Linked DNA regions of Homo sapiens: regions 1, 2, 3, 4 and 6 are each linked to region 5. The links are contacts of gene promoters, found by promoter capture Hi-C in human tissues and cell types (Jung and others, 2019). All regions are on one chromosome and are shown on one strand. Each heading gives the region's core, a stretch centred on a gene start or on the middle of the fragment in contact. The rest is flanking DNA. Distances are from core to core; before and after follow the strand shown.

Evidence for each region. Contacts are between HindIII fragments. The study calls those that stand out against the background at their distance.
Region 1: a contact is called between the fragment with the promoter of IFITM3 here and the fragment with the promoter of RNH1 in region 5, in 1 of the 25 tissues and cell types used here (IMR-90 fibroblasts).
Region 2: a contact is called between a fragment that was not itself captured here and the fragment with the promoter of RNH1 in region 5, in 2 of the 25 tissues and cell types used here (dorsolateral prefrontal cortex and lymphoblastoid cells).
Region 3: the fragment with the promoter of TALDO1 here is called in contact with the fragment with the promoter of RNH1 in region 5 in 7 of the 25 tissues and cell types used here (H1 embryonic stem cells, dorsolateral prefrontal cortex, liver and 4 more).
Region 4: a contact is called between a fragment that was not itself captured here and the fragment with the promoter of RNH1 in region 5, in 2 of the 25 tissues and cell types used here (liver and spleen).
Region 6: a contact is called between a fragment that was not itself captured here and the fragment with the promoter of RNH1 in region 5, in 2 of the 25 tissues and cell types used here (IMR-90 fibroblasts and lymphoblastoid cells).

The regions. Positions count from the first base shown.
Region 1 is chr11:319,536-322,228 of GRCh38, forward strand. It overlaps IFITM3 (interferon induced transmembrane protein 3), which reads right to left and starts at 1,325. Exons shown (of 2, transcript NM_021034.3): 1 at 1,030-1,325; 2 at 141-455. The coding sequence starts at 1,278. The coding sequence ends at 303. All of the region lies in intron 1 of IFITM3-AS1 (IFITM3 antisense RNA 1), which reads left to right. RefSeq lists enhancers at 1-7, 1,120-1,675. The HindIII fragment of the contact is 9,942 bases long and covers 161-2,693 here.
Region 2 is chr11:646,432-649,597 of GRCh38, forward strand. All of the region lies in intron 11 of DEAF1 (DEAF1 transcription factor), which reads right to left. Among named protein-coding and RNA genes, the nearest start is that of DRD4, 11 kb to the left of the region's middle. The HindIII fragment of the contact is 6,426 bases long and covers 1-3,166 here.
Region 3 is chr11:745,916-748,717 of GRCh38, forward strand. It overlaps TALDO1 (transaldolase 1), which reads left to right and starts at 1,549. Exons shown (of 8, transcript NM_006755.2): 1 at 1,549-1,663. The coding sequence starts at 1,567. It overlaps LOC105376509 (a long non-coding RNA gene), which reads left to right. Exons shown (of 3, transcript XR_930962.3): 3 at 834-1,047. RefSeq lists enhancers at 533-1,181, 820-879, 1,182-1,830 and silencers at 1,010-1,609, 1,670-1,959, 2,060-2,149. The HindIII fragment of the contact is 22,782 bases long and covers 1-2,802 here.
Region 4 is chr11:664,101-667,162 of GRCh38, forward strand. All of the region lies in intron 10 of DEAF1 (DEAF1 transcription factor), which reads right to left. Among named protein-coding and RNA genes, the nearest start is that of DRD4, 28 kb to the left of the region's middle. The HindIII fragment of the contact is 6,229 bases long and covers 1-3,062 here.
Region 5 is chr11:505,903-508,680 of GRCh38, forward strand. RNH1 (ribonuclease/angiogenin inhibitor 1) reads right to left here and starts at 1,340. Exons shown (of 11, transcript NM_203387.3): 1 at 1,211-1,340. It also overlaps a transcript of LRRC56 not described here. RefSeq lists an enhancer at 609-778 and a cis regulatory region at 694. The HindIII fragment of the contact is 14,362 bases long and covers 1-2,778 here.
Region 6 is chr11:340,814-343,821 of GRCh38, forward strand. No RefSeq gene overlaps it. Among named protein-coding and RNA genes, the nearest start is that of IFITM3, 21 kb to the left of the region's middle. The HindIII fragment of the contact is 5,319 bases long and covers 1-3,008 here.

The DNA.
Region 1 (2,693 bases), core at 75-2,574, 190 kb before region 5:
GAAGGCCTGAGCACTTGCCCGGTCCCCAAGAGATGCACAGAGGCCGGAAGGGGCAGTGCAGGGGCTGACCAACCTGCTCAGTCTCAGAACCACGCTCCGAACCCTCAGCCAGACCCCTCCCCAGGTGAAGTCGCAGCAGCACCAGAAACACGTGCACTTTATTGAATGCCATTGTAGAAAAGCGTGTGAGGATAAAGGGCTGATACAGGACTCGGCTCCGGGGGCAGGGCGAGGAATGGAAGTTGGAGTACGTGGGATACAGGTCATGGGCAGAGCTCCTGGCCTCAGTGATGCCTCCTGATCTATCCATAGGCCTGGAAGATCAGCACTGGGATGACGATGAGCAGAATGGTCATGAGGATGCCCAGAATCAGGGCCCAGATGTTCAGGCACTTGGCGGTGGAGGCATAGGCCTGGGCCCCGGTCACGTCGCCAACCATCTTCCTGTCCCTAGACTGGGGGAGAGGAGATGGTGAGGGGACCAGGATCCCCCAGCTGAGAGCCGCGTGCTATGGCTCCGTCTCCTCATTGGCTCTCCCCGCCCTGAGATCAGGGACCACCTCCTCCCCTTCCTCACCCGGGCTCAGACTCTCCAGGAGCCTCGGGGCTCATCCTCCTTCTGCCTTGACCTCAGCACAGGCTGTTCTCCCCACCATGGGGTGAAGTCACCTGTGAGTTCCCTTCTCACTTTCTGGGAGAGCCTGGGTGCCAGTCTGGAAGGTGAAGGTGTAATTTCTTACTGGGCTATAGGGAGAACTGCTCTGGGCTAGTGGATAGCCGGGGACAGACTCTGAGCCAGCCAGCCAGCCTCCTGGAGCCTCCTCCTAAACCTGCACTGGGCAGATTCCCCAAGCCACACACACACACAGATCACACAGACAAAGCCACTGACGTGGGCACACACGGGACAGAGGTGCACACAAACTCACAGTCACAGGGACACACAAGTCCCCACCCCAGGCAGCATGTGGGCAGGTGGAGCTCCAGGCTCAGCGGCACCCTCTGAGCATTCCCTGGGGCCATACGCACCTTCACGGAGTAGGCGAATGCTATGAAGCCCAGGCAGCAGGGGTTCATGAAGAGGGTGTTGAACAGGGACCAGACGACATGGTCGGGCACGGAGGTCTCGCTGCGGATGTGGATCACGGTGGACGTCGGGGGAGCAGGGTTGTGGGGCGCCCCCAGCACAGCCACCTCGTGCTCCTCCTTGAGCATCTCATAGTTGGGGGGCTGGCCACTGTTGACAGGAGAGAAGAAGGTTTGGACAGTGTGATTCATGGTGTCCAGCGAAGACCAGCGGCGGTCGGGTTACTGGGATGGTTCTCAGTGAGCCCTCCCTTTCCCCAGTAGTTTCGGTTTCTCAACAGTTTCCTTTTCCTGGCATTTGTCAAATCGGGATTTGGCCGGGGCCAGATGAGGGCGGAACAAATTCCTGAGGATCAAATTACTTTAGGAGAGGGAGGAAAGAGGGGCTGAGGGCTAAGAGGGGCTTCCTCTCTAGAGCCCAAGGGAGCACAAGGCTCATCTTGTTAGTGGTGTGGGGTCCTGGAGACTTCCCCTGTGTTGGGGGTCTCCACACCCCAGGCCAGCAGCTGCAGGACCCCACTGTCCCGGTTCAGGGCTCCTGCCAGGCCTGCGCTGACGCCTCCACACTCCAGGCCCCACAACCGTTCCCCCAAAGCCCTCACCTCTGCCGGGCGCCGCGGCTCACGCCTGTAATCCCAGCACTTTGGGAGGCTGAGGTGGGAGGATCATGAGGTCAGGAGATCGAGACCATCCTGGCTGACACGGTGAAACCCCGTCTCCCATAACCCTCACTGTGGTGCCCAGGCAGCTGGATTATCCCATTACCTTCACTATGGTGCCCAGGCAGCTGGATTATCCCATTACCTTCACTATGGTGCCCAGGCAGCTGGATTATCCCATTACCTTCACTATGGTGCCCAGGCAGCTGGATTATCCCATTACCTTCACTATGGTGCCCAGGCAGCTGGATTATCCCATTACCTTCACTATGGTGCCCAGGCAGCTGGATTATCCCATTACCTTCACTATGGTGCCCAGGCAGCTGGATTATCCCATAACCCTCACTGTGGTGCCCAGGCAGCCGGATTATCCCATTACCTTCACTATGGTGCCCAGGCAGCTGGATTATCCCATAACCCTCACTGTGGTGCCCAGGCAGCCGGATTATCCCATTACCTTCAGTGTGGTGCCCAGGCAGCCGGATTATCCCATTACCTTCAGTGTGGTGCCCAGGCAGCTGGATTATCCCATAACCCTCACTGTGGTGCCCAGGCAGCTGGATTATCCCATTACCTTCACTATGGTGCCCAGGCAGCTGGATTATCCCATAACCCTCACTGTGGTGCCCAGGCAGCCGGATTATCCCATTACCTTCAGTGTGGTGCCCAGGCAGCCGGATTATCCCATTACCTTCAGTGTGGTGCCCAGGCAGCTGGATTATCCCATTACCTTCACTATGGTGCCCAGGCAGCTGGATTATCCCATAACCCTCACTGTGGTGCCCAGGCAGCCGGATTATCCCATTACCTTCAGTGTGGTGCCCAGGCAGCCGGATTATCCCATTACCTTCAGTGTGGTGCCCAGGCAGCTGGATTATCCCATAACCCTCACTGTGGTGCCCAGGCAGCTGGATTATCCCATTACCTTCACTATGGTGCCCAGGCAGC
Region 2 (3,166 bases), core at 660-3,159, 140 kb after region 5:
GGTGAGGGGCCTGCACCCCTCATGGGAGCTGCCCCCCGTGAGAGGATGTGGGCGGCGGACAAGGCCCCCAGGAGTTCTAGATGCTTCCTTCTCTGGTCTACAGGTTTGAGCCACTCCCTGGGGCCTGTGCAGATGGAGGGAGAGAGGGCGCACATCAGTGTTGACTCTGAGCTACAGAAGCTTCCATCAGGTTCTTCCAGCAAAGAGGCAAAGGCCCAGGGTTGACTTTTAAAATCAGAACTACTCAGTTCTTTTTTAAAGCAAATTTTTCCATCTTAAACATCAATGTGATGCTTCTTACAGTATAATGCTAAAACACTTTTGAAAAAAAAATCATTATCTGAAAAGCCAGAATTAGAAGTTAGCGTTTCAGTTTTTGAAAAACGGAAAAAAATGGTTAAATTCACAAGAAGCTAACAATGAAAGTGCCTGATACAAATAAATGAGAAAAGCCAACATCACAGACTGTAAAAACAATGACTTCGGGAGGTTGAGGTCACTTGAGGTCAGGGGTTGGAGACCAGCCTGAGCAACATAGCAAAACCCTATCTCTATAAAAAAAAAAAAATGTTTTAAAATTAGCTGGGTGTGGTGGCTCATGCCTGTGGTCCAAGCTACTTGGGAGACAGAGGCAGGAGGATCACTTGAGCCAGGAGATCAAGGCTGTAGTGAGCCGTGATGGCACCACTGGACTGCAGCCTGGGTGACAAAGCGAGACCCTGTCTATAGAAAACCTAAAATAGGCTGGGTACGGTGGCTCATGCCAGTAATCTCAGCACTTTGGGAGGCCAAGGCAGGCAGATCATGAGGTCAGGAGTTCAAGACCAGCCTGAACAACATGGTGAAACCCCGTCTCTGCTAAAAATACAAAAATTAGCCGGACGTGGTGGCGGGTGCCTGTAATCCCCAGCTACTAGGGAGGCTGAGGCAGGAGAATCGCTTGAACCTGGGAAGTGGAGGTTGCAGTGAGCCAAGATCGCGCCGCTGCACTCCAGCCTGGGTGACAGAGCCAGACCCTGTCTCAAAAACAGAAACAAAACCAAAAACAAACGAACAAATAAAAACCAAAAATAAGTAATGAAATAAAAACAGTGACTAAAAATCCAATTAAAACACAATCCAAATCTGACTTACAGTGATCCAGGCCTCACAAATGAAAATAATGATGCGTGGGGCTTGCTTTAAAATGCTCAGCCCTCAGCCCAAAGAGAGAGGGGGACAAGCCAGGAGGGCAGGCGCTAAAGCAGCTGATACAGGTGAGGGCGACGGGCCTCTCCTGGGCGATCCAACTCATGTGCACGTCTCACATTTTCCAAAGTTAAGGATTAAAAGAAAAGTGTTGCCACCACAGCACGTAGGTGACTCAATCCAGGCAGTGCTGGGAGCAGGTGGGTGGACTTGACCCAGGCGGTGCTGGGAGCAGGTGGGTGGACTTGACCCAGGCGGTGCTGGGAGCAGGTGGGTGGACTTGACCCAGGCGGTGCTGGGAGCAGGTGGGTGGACTTGACCCAGGCGGTGCTGGGAGCAGGTGGGTGGACTTGACCCAGGCGGTGCTGGGAGCAGGTGGGTGGACTTGACCCAGGCGGTGCTGGGAGCAGGTGGGTGGACTTGACCCAGGCGGTGCTGGGAGCAGGTGGGTGGACTTGACCCAGGCGGTGCTGGGAGCAGGGGATTCCTGTTGGGGCTTCATAACATGCATAAACTCGTGTATACTTTTGTGTACATACCAAGTCCTCTACAATTAATTTTTAAAATTATCACTGCCTTTTTTTTTTTTTTTTGAGACGGAGTCTCCCTTTGTCTCCCAGGCTGGAGTGCTGTGGCACGATCTCGGCTCACTGCAAGCTCCGCCTCCCGGGTTCATGCCATTCTCCTGCCTCAGCCTCCCGAGTACCTGGGACTACAGGCGCCCACCACCACGCCAAGCTAATTTTTTTGTATTTTTAGTAGAGACGGGGTTTCACCATGTTAGCCAGGATGGTCTCGATCTCCTGACCTCGTGATCCGCCCGCCTCGGCCTCCCAAAGTGCTGGGATTACAGGCGTGAGCCACCGTGCCCAGCTGAAGGCAGCTTTTTAAAGAACAGGATCTGAGGGAGGCTTGAGGACAGGGTGTCCTGGGCTGGAGGTCCGGCTGGAAGGCAGCTTTTAAAAGAACGGGATGTGTTCGTTCTGTAGGTGAAAGGAGCTCAGTAAGTGCTTATATTGGGGCCCAAATAGTGTTTGCCAGGAATGTATACACTCAGCCTCTGCAGTACACTTTCCCTGCTTGAGGAAATTCTATCCTCCTACTGAAACTGAGATAAATTAAAATGTATATTGTAATACCTATAGCAGTAAGAAAATAACAACTTTAAAGATACTGTTTAAAAATGTTCAACAAAAGAATTGAAGTGGTACACTAGAAAACACAACTAGAAAATACACATTTAACAGAAAAGAAGGCAGTGAAAGAACAGAGGAGCAAAACATGAAACATAAACTGCAAATATAAACACAAATCCACTCACATTGATAATTACATTAAACATGAGATTAGGTTTTGCGCAGTGGCTCATGCCTATAATCCCAGCACTTTGGGAGGCCAAGGTGGGAGGGTTACTTGAGCCCAGGAGTTCAAGACCAGCCTGGCCAACATGGCAAAACCCTCTCTCTACGAAAAATACAAAAATTAGCCTGGCATGGTGGTGCATGCCTGTAATCCCAACTACTTGGGAGGCTGAGGCAGGAGAATCGCTTGAACCCGGGAGGCAGAGGCTGCAGTGAGCCGAGATTGCGCCACTGCACTCTAGCCTGGGCAACCGTGCGAGACTCCATCACACACACACACAACAACAACAACAAAAACGGGCATGGTGGCGGGTGCCTGTAATCCCAGTTACTTGGGAGGCTGAAGGAGGAGTATTGCTTGAACCCGGGAAGCGGAGGTTGCACTGAGCTGAGATTGTGCCACTGCACTCTGGCCTGGGTGACAGAGAGAGACCCCACTTAAAAAAAAAAACAAAACAGCTGGGTGTGGTGGCTCACACCTATAATCCCAGCAGTTTGGGAGGCCGAGGCGGGCGGATCACTTGAGGTCAGGAGCTCAAGACCAGCCTGACCAACATGGTGAAACCCTGTGTCTACTAAAAGTACAAAAATTAGCCGGGTCTGATGGCACACTCCTG
Region 3 (2,802 bases), core at 299-2,798, 240 kb after region 5:
CTCCTGCCTCAGCCTCCCAAGTAGCTGGGATTACAGCCATGTGCCACCACGCCTGGCTAATTTTGTATTTTTAGTAGAGACGGGGTTTTGCATGTTGGCCACGCTGGTCTCCAACTCCTGACCTCAAGTGATCGCCTGCTTTGGCCTTTCAATGTGCTGGGATTCCAGGCCTGAGCCACCGCGTCAGCCTAGGATTTGCCTTTTAAGAAGTCTTTTCCGCCGGGCGCGGTGGCTCACGCCTGGAATCCCAGCACTTTGGGAGACTGAGGTGGGCGGATCACGAGGTCAGGAGATCGAGACCATGCTGGCCAACATGATGAAACCCCGTCTGTACTAAAAATACAAAAATTAGCCGGGCGTGGTGGTGAGCGCCTGTAATTCCAGCTACTCGGGAGGCTGAGGCAGGAAAATCGCTCGAACCCGGGAGGCGGAGGTTGTAGTTAGCCAAGATCGCGCCACTGCACTCCAGCCTGGGCAACAAGGGCGAGATTCCGTCTCAAAAAAAAAAAAAAGTCTTTTCAGGTTTTTGCATTTCTGACAACCGGATGGCCCCACCTGGACCTGCCAACCAGTTGTGTGGCCTCTACCCAGGGACTGACTCAGCATAAGCGGACAGCTTCGACTCCCTGTGATTTCATCCCTAGCTGACCAGTCAGCACTTCTGACTCACTGGCCCCCTACCCACCAAATTATTCTTAAATACTGGGATCCCCGAGTTTTGGGGAGACTGATTTGAGGAATAAAACTCTGGTCTCCCGAACAATCGGCTCTGTGTGAATTATGCTTTCTCTATTGCAATTCCCCTGTCTTGACAATAGACTCTGTCCCGGCAGCTGGCAAGGCGAACCCATGGGGCGGTTACAGTGTCTGCAACGCAGACACAAGCGACAGAGACTTGATCAGAATATACAAGGAACTCTGCAAGTCAGCGATGGTAAGAAGCAGGGCAGCTGGGCCTCCTACGCCTGCCTCGCCGTTCGGTCCCCCGGACACCTCTGGGCTTAGGACTCAGGGGAACAGATTCCCAGAAGCAGGTTCCCCGCCGCGTCCGGCGCCCGGGCTCTGCAGCCGCCCCCTGCTCTGCCTCCTGCACCCGCAGGGCGTCCCCCGCCGCTCCCTCCCCTGCTTCCTGCAGCGGCCCCCGACCCCAGTCCTGGCCCCACCATGGATCCTGCATCGCCGGGTTCGGCCCTGGCGGGTTCAGCCCCGCAGAGTCGGCACCCGGGCCAGGTCCATCTCCTCCAGCCCTCCCGGTGCGTCCCGCGGGGCAGGAAGGAGGCGAGGCCCAGCCGCCCCGTGTCGTGCAGGTGTTTTCCCGGGCCCGTCCGCGGCGGCTGCTGAGGACCTGGGGAGACCCAGCCTGTAGGATCCGCAGCTGCGGTGCGCGGCCGGCAGTGGCGCTCGGGCTTCGTCCCCGGGGGCGGGGCTTCGTCCAGGCGCGCAGGGACCAGCGGGCCTCGCCCTCCCGCGCCGCTTTCCGATTGGCAGCCGCCCGCGGGGCATTGTGGGCCGTCCGCGCGCCCGTCCCGTCGCCGCCGCCGCCGCCGCAGACCCCTCGGTCTTGCTATGTCGAGCTCACCCGTGAAGCGTCAGAGGATGGAGTCCGCGCTGGACCAGCTCAAGCAGTTCACCACCGTGGTGGCCGACACGGGCGACTTCCACGGTGAGGACGGCGCGGAGCCCGGGCGCGGCGCAAGCGCCCTCCAGAGGCCCCGGCGCCCCGATTTCCCCGGGTCTCCCGTTCCGGGACGCGGACCGGGTGGCGGTGCCCCGGGCGGCTCGTTCCGGGAGGAATGAGCGCAGGTGCCGGATGTTGGGGCCAGGGACAGCCGTGAGGGGAGCGGGGCCCGGGTCGGCCGTGAGAGGCGCAGGGCCAGCGGCGACCGTGAGGGGAACGGGGCCCGGGTCGGCCGTGAGGGAGCAGGGCCGGGGGCAGCCGTGAGGAGCTGGGGTCAGCCGTGAGGGGCTCGGTGCTGGGGTCAGCGGTGCGGGCGGTACTGACGGGTCCTTGCGAGCCGTGGGGCACGAAGCCGGAGCCCCAGCCTCGCCCTCCGCCCAGGGTGGGGTCGGCTGCGCCCTCAGACCCCGCACCCGGGACGGGCTGTGGGCAGCCCGCGGGAGCCCCTCTGTGCACCTTCATGGGTCGAGGCAGCTTTCAGAGCCTTTGAGTTCAGGAGAGATTCAGGGTAGAGCTTCGAGCTGACTTCCACGTGGCCAGTTTGTGGTCAGCGAGATGCAATTTTGTTGGGCTGATGTCTGCAGAGCGGGGACATCAGCTAGCTCTGACCAGAAGCTGCCAGTGCTGCCATCGCCCTTGAGCCCTGCGGTGCCCAGTGGGACAACTCCGTGGGCGGCAGGTGCCCGGCCTGCTGGACAGCCACCGCCAGACGCACCGGGTGGGTAAAAGCCGGTGCCCATGAAAGCACAGGGTTGGTACACTGTTAAATACTGGATTTTCCTGGGCTTGAGTTGTTTACATTGGAGAGAACTTGGAAAATACAAAGAAGGATTATTTATTAATACTTAGCTCTTCTGTCCTCTGCAGTGCAGAGTAGACGAGCCTTGTGTCTATGTTTTGTTGAGAACAAGTAATATTTTTTAAGAAAATCATGAAACGCTTCATGGATGAATGCTGCGAGCACCTAATACGGAAGTGACTTCCTCTCTTTTCTGCTTTCTCATGGTGACTTGAGAAACAGGCTTTAATTCCTCTTTGGTAACTGAGTAAGGGCATTGTTTATCTAGCAGAGCCTAGAGAGTGAATTGGCATGTTTGGCTGCTTAACCATAAAATATGGGGATT
Region 4 (3,062 bases), core at 523-3,022, 160 kb after region 5:
TACTCAGGAGGCTGAGGCAGAAGAATCCCTTGAACCCAGGAGGCAGAGGTTGCGGTGAGCCGAGATCACGCCATTGCACTCCAGCCTGGGCAACAAGAGCGAAACTCTGTCTCAAGAAAAAAAGAAAAAGAAAAAAAAGAAAAAAAGTTCACTTTTGTAGCCACCAGAGAAAAGAAAAAAAAAAAGGAAAATGAAACCTACTGTGTCTGGGCCACCCTGAAGGAGTGTGAAGCAGTATCCACCCCAAGCCATGGCACTGAGAGGAGGAAGACAGAAACGGTATCACATTCGGAGCCTCTAAGTCCTGACTCCAGCTATTCACACCGAGAGGAGGAGGACAGGGCGTCACACTCGGTCACTCTGAGTCCTGGCTCAGCTATTCACACCGAGAGGAGGAGGACAGGGCGTCACACTCGGTCACTCTGAGTCCTGGCTCAGCTATTCACACCGAGAGGAGGAGGACAGGGCGTCACACTCGGTCACTCTGAGTCCTGGCTCAGCTATTCACACCGAGAGGAGGAGGACAGGGCGTCACACTCGGTCACTCTGAGTCCTGGCTCAGCTATTCACACCGAGAGGAGGAGGACAGGGCGTCACACTCGGTCACTCTGAGTCCTGGCTCAGCTATTCACACCGAGAGGAGGAGGACAGGGCGTCACACTCGGTCACTCTGAGTCCTGGCTCAGCTATTCACACCGAGAGGAGGAGGACAGGGCGTCACACTCGGTCACTCTGAGTCCTGGCTCAGCTATTCACACCGAGAGGAGGAGGACAGGGCGTCACACTCGGTCACTCTGAGTCCTGGCTCAGCTATTCACACCGAGAGGAGGAGGACAGGGCGTCACACTCGGTCACTCTGAGTCCTGGCTCAGCTATTCACACCGAGAGGAGGAGGACAGGGCGTCACACTCGGTCACTCTGAGTCCTGGCTCAGCTATTCACACCGAGAGGAGGAGGACAGGGCGTCACACTCGGTCACTCTGAGTCCTGGCTCAGCTATTCACACCGAGAGGAGGAGGACAGGGTGTCACACTCGGTCACTCTAAGTAAGTCCTGGCTCAGCTATTCACACCGAGAGGAGAAGGACAGGGTGTCACACTCGGTCACTCTAAGTAAGTCCTGGCTCAGCTATTCACACTGAGAGGAGGAGGACAGGGTGTCACACTCGGTCACTCTAACTAAGTCCTGGCTCAGCTATTCACACTGAGAGGAGGAGGACAGGGTGTCACACTCAGAGCCTCTGAGTCCTGGCTCAGCTATTCAAGTAATGGCTTTATGAATGACACGTCCGATACACAGCTTTAGAGAAAGGGAACACATCGCTTCTAACACTTCCTGACATTTCTTCTAACTCCTGACATTTTCAGATGCACGGGATGTTCACTGCAACAGCTGCTTCCAGCTGAGAAAGGGGCCGCCCTTTCTAACGTTTTAAAAGGCTTGGCTGTCTACCAAACGGGATTTTAAGGATAAAGGGATTTCATGCCACATTTCTCTCATAGAAATACATAAAATTACTAATAAAATTCAAAGCCCAGCCTTTCAGGGCAGGGACCCAGCTGACGCAGCAGCATCAGACACTCTGGCTGCCAAATGAGCAGGGGAGAGAGGCAGCCAGGTGACATAGCAGGGACAGGTGACGTAGCAGGGAGATGGAGCCAGGAAGGCTTCTCCTGGAGGCAGCCCCAGGCCACCAGACATGGGCGGCCACACCGTGGTAGCAGGCTGCAGTCACCCTGGCCAGAGCTGACAAAGTGGCTGGAAAATGAGGGGAGAAACCCTAGAAAGGAGCAAGCACAGAGAGAGGACACTCCCATCCAGCACATAAACGCTCCCCACGTCCTTGTTTGACCCTGAGCTGATGACACAGCATGTGGGGAAGACTCAGCAGAAATGGACGGCTGAAGACCGAGAACACTGAGCAGAGACTGCGGCTGCTGCTCACCACCTGAAAGTCTGGAGTTTGAACCTTCACAAGTTAGAGGCTTAAAAACACCACGGACTTCCCAGGAACATCCAGAAAACCACAGCTTCGCAGATCCAAGACTAAGGATGTGTCAGGCAGAAGAAAAAGCCAGACAGACCTGCCCTAACAGCATCAACACTGATCCTCTTCAGGGTGATCCATAAGAATTCAGCCTGCGAGAACAAAGCCCAACACTCTTCAGGGGAAGACAACAGAATCCAACAAAATTCAGAGTCTCTACCATATAAACTCTACCATATAAACAGTATATAAACTAAAATTCCAACACACAATCAGGAAGTACTGGACGTGTGAAGAAGGGATAACAGGATCCATGATGAAGGGAAAAAGTAGCCAAAAGAAGCAGATCCTGAGGCTGGGCACGGTGGCTCACACCTGTAATCCCAGGCGGGCAGATCACGAGGTTAGGAGATTGTGAACATCCTGGCTAACATGGTGAAACCTCCTCTCTACCAAAAATACAGAAAATTAGCCAGGAGTGGTGGCATGCACCTGTAGTCCCAGCTACTCGGGAGGCTGAGGCAGGAGAATCACTTGAACCCGGGAGGCAGAGGTTGCAGTGAGCTGAGATCGTGCCACTGCACTCCAACCCTGGGCGACAGAGCAAGACTCCGTCTCAAAACAAAACAAAACAACAAAGTATTAGCCAGGTGTGGTGGTGCACACTTGTAGTCCCATCTACTTGGAAGGCTGAGGCAAGAGATCGCTTGAACCTGGGAGGTAGAGCTTGCAGTGAGCTGAGATCGTGTCACTGCACTCTAGCCTGGAGAGCAAGACTCTGTCTCCAAAAAAAAAAAAAAAAAAAAAAAAGAAAAAAAGAAATAGTTATAGCCAGGAGCAGTGGTTCATGCTGGTAATCCCAGTACTTTAGGAGGCCAAGGAAGGTGGGTTGCTTGAGTCCAGGAGTTCAAGACCAGCCTGAGAAACATAGTGAAACCCCATCTATACAAAACAAACAAAAAAATAGCTGGGCATGGTGGTACACATGTGTAGTCCCAGCTACTCAGAAGGCTGAGGTAAGAGGATCGCTTGAGCCAAGGAGTTTGCGGCCAGCCTGGGCATCATGGTGAAACCC
Region 5 (2,778 bases), core at 90-2,589:
GGAGTTTCGCTCTTGTCAGCCGGCTGGAGTGCAGTGGCACGATCTCGGCTCACCGCAACCTCCGCCTCCTGAGTTCAAGCCATTCTCCTACCTCAACCTCCCAAGTAGCTGGGATTATAGGCGCCTGCCACCACGCCCGGCTAATTTTGTATTTTTAGTAGAGACGGGTTTTCACCATGTTGGCCAGGCTGTTCTCGAACTCCTGACCTCAGGTGATCCGCCTGCCTCTGACTGCCCGGCCCAGTGTAACTGTTAACGGCAACATCGTGTGCAGTCTCCGGCTTGCATTCGGTTTAGTCAGCCAATCGCTAAGACGACACTTGAGACCGTTTTCAGATCTTTAGGCTTTCCACCATCCTAGAAGGGGGCCTGCCTGGTTCTAAGGCCCTTCTGAAACACTGCCAAACTGTCCTCGGGAAACGGTGCAGAAGTCCTCTGGTTTCCCCCAAGGCGCGTGGGCACCTTGGCTGGAACCTCGCCCAGTAACACGACGTGCCTGGGGCCCCTTCGTCATTTCCGCCAACCCCGGTGACAACCCTGACACCGGCCCCTAAGTGCCATTCCAGTTATGTTGCTCTCCTCCCCGCAGCCCCAGGCGGCAGCTTCGCGGCCCGGCGTCCGGTCCCCCGGTGGTCCCGGAGCGAAGCTCCGCAATGGAGAGCGGAGGACCCTCCCTCCCCGACCTCGCACGACCAAGACCGCCCACCTTTCCCCCAACGCCCGGCTGTGGGAGCCGTTCGAGTCTTCTCCGCCAGGGCGCTCCTTCCCGGGAGGCCGCTTCTTTGGGGGAATAAGGTCAAGGATTACGGGATTTGGGGAAGCAAGCTCGGCTGGGCCAGGATTGCTTGCGTAGCTCGCTGGAATCTAAGGCACTAGAGGGCTTGACGGCCACGTGAGGACGAACCACGCAGGCGCAGCCCCGCGCCCCGGGCAAGGACTTCCGGCAAGCCCCAAAGGGGAGCGTGCACCGCGATGACGTCCTCAAGGCGCGCCACGTCCGCCCGGCGGCGCAGCTGCCCAGCGCAACCTCGGCCCCGCCTCGATAGCCCCGGACCCCTGCCCCGCCCGACCCCGCCCCGCCACGGGAGCGCGCCACTCGCCCGCGCAGCAACGGCCTCAATAGCGCCAGGCCCGCGTCTACAAGAAGCCCGACCAAGGCCGGCGTGGGCGAGGCCTGGCTAGACGCTGACGCACCGCTGGAGCTACTGACCTCGGGACGACTGGCGGACGGTCGCGGGCCTGGAGACCCAGAGCGAGACGGCCTACTTCGTTCTCGAGCCAGCAGAACGGGTTGAACGTGTCGACAACCCCACCCGCCAGTCAGCGGCGCGGGCGTGTTCGAGCCGGCTCGTGGGCGTGGTCAGGTGCGTGGGCGGGGACTACTGGGCGGGGCTCGGCGCGGGGGCGGGGCCTGGCGGGAGTAGTCTCGGGGTCGGGGCGGGGCCCGGCGGGCGGGGCTCGGCTAAGCACAGTCTTGGCGCAGCGGCGGGGCCTGGTGGGGCGTGGCTCGGTGAGGGAGGTCTCGCTTGGGGGCGTGGTCTCCCCCAGTAGGCGGGGCTTGGTGCCGGGGGCGGGGTCTGGCGGGCGCGGGCGCGTGTGCGTGTTGTGGGCCTCGCACTGGCACGCAAGTCTCAGCAATTCCTGAGAATCCTCGGAGGAAGAGGCCGGGGCCCGGTGCGGCAGCGCCTTGGGGGCGGAATCGCAGGCGCGGGTCGGGCCTTGCTGGGGCGCGGGGCGCGGCCCCCGGAGAAAGCGGCCGCCTCGGGACAGGAGGGACCCGGGAGAAACCCCCCTGGGGCGGCTCCGCATGTCGGGGTCGCGACTCTAGGCGACCTTGGTAGAGGGGCTCGTTTGCGCCGAGCTCGCGACCCCCGAGGGAGCCACGGCCCCGTGAACCACGCTGCCCGTCCTGGCCACTGGCTGCCGCCTTTGTTTCGTGGGACCCCAGCCCGCAAGGCCTGCGGAGCCGCGGCCTCGTCCCGAGTGTTCTGAGCGCGGTCCGAGCTGCTCCTGCGTCCACTCTGCTGCCGACACCCGAGCGTCGCCTGGAGCCCTGGCACTGAGGGGCGCAGGCCGAGTTCCAGACCAGCCTGGGAAACGCAAAGCGACCCCACCTCCACAAAAGTGGGTTTTCTTTAAGTTTTTGACTAGTCCGCAATTCACAGAATTGACATTTTGGCAGATGAAGATTGCAAGTAAGGAAACTAACGGTATCTCAGATTTGTTCTTTAGCAATTTGCTAAACCTCTCCTCTGACTGCCTTTATTAGGTATTTGTTTTCGAGACAGGGTCTCACTCCACTGCTTAGGCTGTACTGCAGTGGCGCGATCCCAGCTCGCTGCAGCCTCCACCTCCCGGACTCCAGTGATCCTCCCGCCTCAGCCTCCCAAGTAGCTGGTACCACAGGCGCCAGCACGCCTGGCTAATTGTTGTATTTTATGTAGAGAAGAGGTCTCCCTGTGTTGCCCAGCCTGGTCTTGAATTGGGCTCAAGTGATCCTCCTGCTTCAGCCTCCCATATCGCTGGAATTACTGGCATAAGCCACTACACCCGGCCTGATCATCTTTAAAGAAGGTGGTTCTGGCCGGGCGTGGTGGCTCACACCTGTAACCCCAACACTTTGGGAGACCGAGAAGGGTGGATCACCTGAGGTCAGGAGTTCAAGACCAGCCTGGCCAACGTGGTGAAACCCCATCTCTACTAAAAATACAAAAATTAGCCAGGCATGGTGGTGGGCACCTGTAATTCCAGCTACTTGGGAGGCTGAGGCAGGAGAAT
Region 6 (3,008 bases), core at 46-2,545, 170 kb before region 5:
ATTTGAAGAAGAGAAAAAAAGAAAGAAATGAAAAAAAGAAAGAGAAAGAGAAAAGAAAGAAAGGAAGAGAAAAAAAGAGAAGGAGAAAGAAGGAAGGAAGGAAGGAAGGGGAAGGGATGGGAAGGGAAGGGAAGGAAAGGAAAGAAAGAAAAAAGCAAGCAAGCAAGAACAAGGAAAGAAAGAAGGAAGGAAGGGAGGGAAGGGAAGGGAAGGGAAGGAAAGAAGAAAGAAAAAAGCAAGAACAAGGAAAGAAGGAAGGAAGGAAAGAAAGAAAAAAGAAAGAAAGAAAAAGAAAAGGAAGGAAGGAAAAGGAAAGAGGAGGAAGGAGGGAAGGAAGAAAGGAAGGAAAGGGAAGGGAAGAAGGAAGGAATGAGAAAGAAAGGAAGGAAGGAAAAGGAAAGGAAAGAAAAGAAAAGAAAAAAGAGAGAGAAAGCAAGCAAAGCGCTAATTAAGCCAAGATGGGGGTCAGAAATGCACGCTAAGTAAAGGTAAGTTTTGTGATGTAGATTTAAATCAATGCTTTCTCCATTCTTTTTTTTTGTTGTTTACTTTGTTTTGTTTTGTTTTGTTTTGAGACAGAGTCTTATTTTACAACCCGGCTGGAGTGCAGTGGTGCGATCATAGCTCACTGCAACCTCAAACTGTTGGTTAAATTTCTTTGTAAAGATGGGGTGAGAGGGTTTGGATTTGTGTCCCCACCCAAATCTCATGTCAAATTGTAATCCTCAGTGTTGGAGGAGGAGCCTGGTGGGAGGTGATTGGATCATGGGGGCAGACTTACCCCTTGCTGTTCTCAGGATAGTGAGTTCTCATGAGATCTGGTTGTTTAAAAGTGTGTGGCACCTCCCCCTTCTGTCTCTTCCTCCTGCTCCAGCCATGCAAGACGTGCCCCCTTCCTCTTCACCTTCTGCCATGATTGTAACTTTCCTGAGGCCTCCCCAGCCATGTGTCCTCTTTTCTTTTGCCTTTTTTTTTTTTGAGACACAGTCTTGCTGTGTCACCCAGGCTGGAGTGCAGTGGCGCGATCTCAGCTCACTACAACGTCCACCTCCCAGACTGAAGCAATTGTCCTGCCTTAGCCAGCTGAGTAGCTGGGATTACAGGTGCACGCCACCATACCTGGCTAATTTTTGTATTTTTAGTAGAGATGGGGTTTCACCATGTTGGCCAGGCTGGTCTCAAACTCCTGACCTCAACCTGCCTCAGCCTCCCAAAGTGCTGTGATTAAGGCATGAGCCACCACACCCAGCCTAAACCTCTTTTCTGTATAAATTACCCAGACTCAGATAGTTCTTTACAGCAATGAGAGAAGGGACTAATACACCGACTCTTACTATGTCACCCAGGCTGGTCTTGAACTCCTGGGCTCAAGCAACCCTCCTCCCTCAGCCTCCCAAAGTGCTGGCATTATAGGCATGAGCCACCACTTCTATCTCCTTTATAGAATTAAATTTTTCTTACAAAGGGTCTCAAAAGAATTGGATCAAAATAATCTTTATGCCAGAGTAGCACATTTGGGGCCTACGTTGGCTAGATCAGAGGCTTCTCAGCCCAGTTTATGCTTTTTAACTCCATCACTGAGTTCAGGGTGGCGCCTACTGATGAACTGGCAAGCATTTTCCATGCCTGGAGTTAGCATGAATAGGCCAGGATATAATTCTACATCATCAGCAAATTTCTGGGACAGGGAAACCTTTCACTATTGTTCTGAGCTCAGATTTTAATCAAGATGTCAATGTGGTTAAAGAAGGAAGGCCTGGTTGATCTAAAGGCCTAACACGATGAAAGTTTGGCTAACTTTCTTTTTGCCTCTGGGGTATAAAAGTTACTGAGCAAAAAAGTGAGTAGTTCAGAGCAATCTGGCAGAGCAAGATGGAGAGAAAGAGAGAAGGGCTCATCTGTGCTGAGTCAGTAGACATGCCCTTTTTCATTGTCAATTAACTGCTTTGGTTTTCTATTTGCCTTTTTCTATGGAGTCTTTTAGAGAGACAACTTGGGATTCATTTAGTCTTTTAGCAGCCTGTGCATGCCAATCAAAAAATCATCTGGGCATGGAGGTTCTCGCCTGTAATCCCAGCACTTTGGGAGGCTGAGGCAGATGGATCACTTGAGCTCAGGAGTTCGAGACCAGCCCGGCAACATGGCGAAAACCCATCTCTACTAAAAATACAAAAAATTAGCTGGGCTTGGTGGTGCATGCCTGTAGTCCCAGCTACTCAGGAGGCTGAGGCAGGAGAATCACTTGAACCCAGGAGGTGGAGGTTGCAGTGAGCCGAGATCACACTACTGCACTCCAGCCTGGGTGACAGAGTGAGACTCTGTGTCAAAAACAACATGTGAATTAAAAAATGCATTCCATTTTCTCTTAGTTGCTTTGGATCCCATCTTTTGCAGTGGATACCACAGATGAACAGCTTTGTCTAGGTCATCACTTACCCACTGCGGCCACCACTTAATTCTAAGGTGTCTTTGGTAAAGTTCACCAGTTTCTCTAGACAAGTACTGGTTCTCAGGTGGAGGAATCTCAGACTCTGTGGATTCAGATAAACTCATTATTCTGTCTTCCCAAACCCTTACCTATGTGAAGATGCCTACTAGGCCCAGTTCAGTTTCTGATAGATCCAGTTTGACGCTAGATCTAGTCTGGATTTTTTTTTTTTTTTTTGAGACTGAGTATCACTCTGTCGCCCAGGCTGGAGTGCAATGGCACGATCTCGGCTCACTGCAACCTCCGCCCCCCGAGTTCAAGCGATTCTCCTGCTTCAGCCTCCCGAGCAGCTGGGATTACAGGCACCTGCCACCACACCTGGCTAATTTTTGTAGTTTTAGTAGAGACAGGGTTTCACCATCTTGGCCAGGCTGGTCTTGAACTCCTGACCTCGTGATCTGCCCACCTCAGCCTCCCAAAGTGCTGGGATTACAGGCATGAGCCACTGTGCTTGGCCCTGGAATTTTTTTTTTTCTTTAATGCTCAAATAAAGTTGGAGATCTTAGGATGAAAGTTGTGG